Regions from separate parts of the Homo sapiens genome. Here region 2 is linked to region 1. Evidence: promoter capture Hi-C in 16 types of primary human blood cells and fetal thymus (Javierre and others, 2016). All regions are on one chromosome and are shown on one strand. The core of a region is centred on a gene start or on the middle of the fragment in contact, and the rest is flanking DNA. Distances in the headings are between cores, read along the strand shown. Region 1 holds the start of ZDHHC4 (zDHHC palmitoyltransferase 4). Region 2 overlaps MIOS-DT (MIOS divergent transcript).

Region 1 (2,920 bases), core at 34-2,533:
TCAAAGGAGGACAGGCCTGGCTCAGGTCTTCAGAGGCATCAGGAATAGACCCTGGCCTCAGCTGATTCAGAGATGGTCAGAGCAAAGGACACCCCACAGGGCCTTCTCAGGGCTATGTTTGGAAGCAGCTCTTGTTACCCCAAGCCTGCCTAGCATCAAACACCCTTCCCTTTTATCCTCAACGTTTGTGGTCAAGTATTTGTCACTGCCCCGAGGATATTTAGGGCTGTACAGAGCAACATGTCCTTGTCATCAGGAGCAAGGACACACATGGAGCGGAATCTGACTGATGGGTACACATTGTGCTTTCTGCCCGCTTCTGCAACGGAAGATGCTGGAAATGTTCTGCTAGATCTCAACAGTGTGGGTGGCTGAAAGCAAACTCTGTCCACCACACAGACATAGTCTGAGAGCCCCCTAAGTGTGACTGCCCTGGGCCACCTGGATCCCCCTGCTGGGCTCTGAGCAGGGACATGACTGGTCTCTGTGCAGGCCGCAGGGCAGCTTAGTCCCTGTCACAGCCCCAGAATGATCGCCCCCACCAGGCCCAGGTCGGTCCTCCTGTAAGTCTCCTGGCAATACTGCTCTAAAATCCCACTTCCAGCCCAGTGCAGGGACTCACGCCTGTAATCTCAACACTCTGGGAGGCCGAGGTGGGAGGATCACTTGAGCCCGGGAGTTCGAGATCAGCTTGGGCAACATAGTGAGACACCCGTCTCTACAAAAAAAAAAAAAAAAAAAAAAAAATTAGGCGGGTGTGGTGGCATGCACCTGTGGTCCCAGCTACTTGGGAGGCTGAGGCAGGAGGCATTGCTTGAGCCCAGGAGTTGGAGGTTGTAGTGTGCTAGGATAGCGCCATTGCACTCCGGCTTGGGCGACAGAGCGAGGCTGTTTCTGAATGAATGAACGAATACATAAGTAAATAAGAAAATAGGTAATACATAAAATAAAATAAATAAAATAAAATAAAATAAAATAAAATAAAATAAAATAAAATAAATAAAATAAAATAAATAAAATAAAATAAATAAAATAAAATAAATAAAATAAAATAAATAAAATAAAATAAAATAAAATAAAATAAAATAAAATAAAATAAAATAAAATAAAATAAAATCGCACTTCCCAGCGGTTACACCCGGCCACGGAGGTCCCCAGGCTGGCTGCGAGGGCGCCGGGGAGGTCACTGTTACTCCAGCCCCGCAACCCGCGGCGGCCCTCGCACACTTCCGCCGGAAGTCAGCCCCTCAGGGGCGCCGTGCTGATGTCACGAGCCCGCAGGAAGTCTCGTATCGCGCCCGGGAGGCGCCGGAGCCCAGCGGCTGGCGGTAAGGCCGCCTCCGCGGGGCTGTGGGAAGCTTGGGCTGTCCCAGGACCGTCAGTCTCCTCCTCTGACCCTCCCTTTCCCCTTGTGTGTAGGGCCGCCGTCCCACCCCCACCTCGCCCGAGTCCGGGGCGGCCCCGGTGTCCCCTCCGAGCCTGCTGCACTCCACGTCCCCCTACCAGGGCTCCAGCCCCCAGGGAAATCTCCGACCAGGCCCGCCCAGGAGGTGCCTTGGATGGGGGTGGCTTCGGGAGGCCCTAATGGGGAGTGGCGGGGAGAGACCCAAGGCTACCGACTTGGCTTATTTCTTCCCAACTAGCTGTTTCTCACAAAGTCTTTATTATTATTGTATTTTGAGACGGGGTTTCGCTCTTGTTTCCCAGGCTGTAGTGCAGTGGCGCGATCTCGGCTTACTGCACCCTCCGCCTCCCGGATTCAAGCAATTCTGCCTCAGCCTCCCCAGTAGCTTGGATTACAGGCATGCGCCATCACGCCCAGCTAATTTTTTTTGTATTTAGTAGAGACGGATTTCACCATGTTGGTCAGGCTGGTCTCGAACTCCTGACCTCAGGTGTTCTACCCGCCTCGGCCTCCCAAAGTGCTGGGATTATAGGCGTGAGCCACCGCGCCCGGCCTCTTTTATTGTTTTTAGAGATGGGGTCCAGCTCTATGGCCCAGGCTGGAAGGCAGTGGCACGATCACAGCTCACTGCAGCCTCGACCTCCTGGGCTCAAGCCATCCTTCCACCTCAGCCTCCCAAGTAGCTGGGACCACAGGCGCGGGCCACCACGCCCCACTGATTTTTAAATTTTTATGTAGGGACAGTGATCTCACTGTGTTGCCCAGGCTGGTCTCGAACTCTTAACCTCAAGCTATCCTCCTGCCTGGGCCTCCCAAAGATTTGGGAGCAGGCCTAAGCAACTTAGTCTGGGCCATTTCTCCCAAAGTCTTACCCATTCATGCTGGGGGTGCTGAAAATCCCCTACTTCCAAATCCTTTTCCACAGGTATTCTGCCTTTGACTGCAACTCTTGTCGTCTTATGTGGGTGTTGAATTGATCTGTCTCTGCAGCCAGATCCAGGCTCCTGGAAGAACCATGTCCGGCAGCTACTGGTCATGCCAGGCACACACTGCTGCCCAAGAGGAGCTGCTGTTTGAATTATCTGTGAATGTTGGGAAGAGGAATGCCAGAGCTGCCGGCTGAAAATTACCCAACCAAGAGAAATGTAGGCTGGGTACCCTGAATCACCCCGTGAGAATTGCTGCTGTTTGTTTACTCTCACCTATCATGTCATGAATAGCTTCTTGTTTGGTTATCTCACTTGGCATTACAGCCCAGAATCTTATCTGCTAAGGTCAAAAGTGACCAGTTCCGGTATCTTTTTTGGTTTGTTTTTGAGACAGGGTCTCATGCTGTCGCCCAGGCTTGAACTCCTGTGCTCAAGCAATCCTCCCGCCTCAGCCTCCACAGGCATGCGCAACCACACTTGGCTAATTTTTGTATTTTTTGTAGAGATGGGGGTCTCGCTTTGTTGCCCAGGCTGGTCTTGAACTCCTGGGTTCAAGTGATCCTCCCACCTCAGCCTTCCAAAGTGC
Region 2 (2,700 bases), core at 24-2,523, 990 kb after region 1:
CCTTCAACTGCAATCCTTCTGGTTTTAAAACCACAACAAAAATCCTCTCCTGGATCACCACAACATAAATGAAGAATCTTAAAAAGAACATCCTGGCCAAGCGCAGTGGCTCATGCCTGTAATCCCAGCACTTTGGGAGGATGAGGCAGGCAGATCACTTGAGGTCAGGAGTTCGAGACCAGCCTGGCCAACATGGTGAAATCCCATCTCTACTGAAAATATAAAAATTAGCCAGGCATGGTGGCGCATGCCTGTAATCCCAGCTACTCAGGAGGCTGAGGCAGGAGAATCACTTGAACCTGGGAGGCAGTGATTGTGGTGAGTTGAGACTACACCACAGCACTCCAGCCTGGGCGACAGAGCGAGGCTCCATCTCAAAAAAACAACAATAAAAAAATCCTATTAGGAATACAAAAGCTTAAATTAAAAACAAACAAAATACCGAGACTGAACTACAGTGGCCCTAGGATCTATTGTAAAACGCATGTTTAGTAAAGGCAACTAGTGTAATCTCAGACCAGTCTGTCAAGTTCTCTGCTACGGTTTACTGTTTCCAAAGATACAAAGCACTCACTCAACTCAGTAAATATTTTTTGGATACCTATGCAACAGGTGCTAAGGGAAATCCAAAGTTCCATGCTAAAAGATTGCTACCTGCAAGGATCTTGGTTTAGTAGAGAAGGGGAATCAGTTTCCAAAAAGACTGAGAAAGGTGTCACTTATTCCTGTGAGGGGCTTTAGAAGAATTAGTGGCAATATGAAAAAATATATACTTTCACAAAGCTTGAGTGGAAAAGAAAGTTGAAAAAGGGACATTAGCTGGAGGAGGATGTAGAATAAATACGTTGTTTTAGGATTTATTCAATACATTTTTATTTACCACATTTATTAGGTACTGTTTTACATCCTGGTGATTAAGCAGAGAATAAAATAGACAGAGCCCCTCTGTTTTAATTAGGGAATTGGCTAAGCTGCTCTACCAGGTCCAAACAAACAATGATTTTTTAAAGAACAAAGTTTATTTTCTCTTGCATAATGGTCCAGAAGTCTGTGGTTGATCCAAGGGAGGAGGTGCCCCAGCTCCCTGAGATTAGTTTGGGACTTAGGCTAGTGAGAACAGCTTTGCCTTCCTTAATACATGGCTTCCATTTCCAGTCTGTATTTCTTTTTGCCATTTGCCAGACAGCAAGAAGAGGGAAGAGAAAGTGTATAGCAAGCAGCTTTCCTTTTAAGGGACATGATCCAGTTCTACTCACATCTTACAGGACATAACTTTTTGATATAGCCTTACCTTGCTGAAAGGGAGGCCAAGGAATGTCATGTCTAAGTAGGTCACCAAGTGCCCTGCTCAAATTTGAATGTAGAGTTATTTCCTCTTACTAAAAAGAAAAAAAATACAGAATGAAAACTGGAGATAAGGAGAAGACACAGTCTAGAAGATAACTATAGGAAAGTAAAGAGATGGCGACGTATGTGAAGTTGTGGTGTCATAAAGACAACAACAAAGGAGCTAATTTATAGGTAGTCAGTGACAAGTGAGCAGTCTTGAGTAAAGGGAGAGTATGAGTCATGTAGATTTCTGCATTCCAGACAGAGGGAATAGCTAGTGAAGAAGCCCTGAGGCAAGAGCATGCTTGTCATGTTTAAGGAACAGTGAAGTCACAGGGATAAAAGACAAACCAGAAGAAAGTGATGATATGCAACAAAGTGAATGAGACATGTCAAGAGAGGAAGTAGTCAAGAACAACAGAAGTTGCAAGAGTGAAGCTTTGGCCATTGAAACTGGCAGCATGGAGCTCACAGGTGACCTTGACAAGTGGCAGTTTCGTGGCATGGTGGGCATGAAGGACTGAATGGAGTGAATTCAAGGGAGAGAGGGGGAAGTGGAATTACAGAGAGCAAATATGATCCTCTCCTTTGAAGAGAAAATGGGAATAACTTGAGTATGTGTTGAAAGTAAAGAACCAGTAGAAATGGAGAGGCAAAGATACATGGAAGTGAAGTAATTGATGGTGCAAGGTCCCAGAAGAGGAGATATACATGGGGTTCCTCCTCTTACTCTTTGTCACCTAAAAGAAGGTAAGAATGGTAGTGAATCAAGATGTTGGAGGAGGGAAGGAGGAAGCAGTGGGAGGTTGTGCAAATTCTAGCTAATAGTTTTAATTTTCTTTTCTGAAGTAGGAGGCAGTGTCATCTCCTGAGTGCAAGCAGAAAAGTTGTCCTCAACTATGTATAGTAGGAGTGGATAAGGAAGAGATTTGTATTGATCTGAGGTTTTGTGTGGGGGTTTGAGGCCAGGGTCAAAACCACTGAGAAGATTGGCAAGATAGTGTTTGAAGTGATGAATACTGTCATGTCTCCTCTCAGTAATACAGCACTTTCTTCAGCCTACATTCTTCTAATGGCAGGATTGGAAAGGCAATACTTTCCCCAAACTCATCATCTTATCAAAACCATCTGCCACCAAGATCATCAGGACTAAGCTCATTATGCTGTTTACAGCCATCACCACCACAAGCCCAAGACCACCCACTTTTAATCATGAACAGACAAGCAAAGACTGTCAGACATCTGAAGACTGCCTCGAGGTCAGACTCGTGACACCTGAGGCAGCACCATTCACTCAGTTTTGGGAACAAAAAACTTGGAATCCTCTTTCACCGTCATTCACTTGGTCAGTCACCAAGCTCTGTTCATCCC

What was found. The method cuts DNA at HindIII sites, captures the fragments that hold promoters and counts their contacts. A CHiCAGO score of 5 or more calls a contact.
Region 2: a fragment that was not itself captured here is called in contact with the fragment with the promoter of ZDHHC4 in region 1 in 1 of 17 cell types (monocytes); the score reaches 5.0 in monocytes.

Annotation. Positions count from the first base shown.
Region 1 is chr7:6,576,171-6,579,090 of GRCh38, forward strand. ZDHHC4 (zDHHC palmitoyltransferase 4) reads left to right here and starts at 1,284. Exons shown (of 8, transcript NM_001134389.2): 1 at 1,284-1,328; 2 at 2,396-2,550. RefSeq lists a silencer at 1,304-1,633 and an enhancer at 1,912-2,527. The HindIII fragment of the contact is 1,968 bases long and covers 1-1,356 here.
Region 2 is chr7:7,562,946-7,565,645 of GRCh38, forward strand. MIOS-DT (MIOS divergent transcript) reads right to left here. Exons shown (of 5, transcript NR_110084.1): 2 at 1,292-1,379. Among named protein-coding and RNA genes, the nearest start is that of MIOS-DT, 1.8 kb to the right of the region's middle. The HindIII fragment of the contact is 984 bases long and covers 782-1,765 here.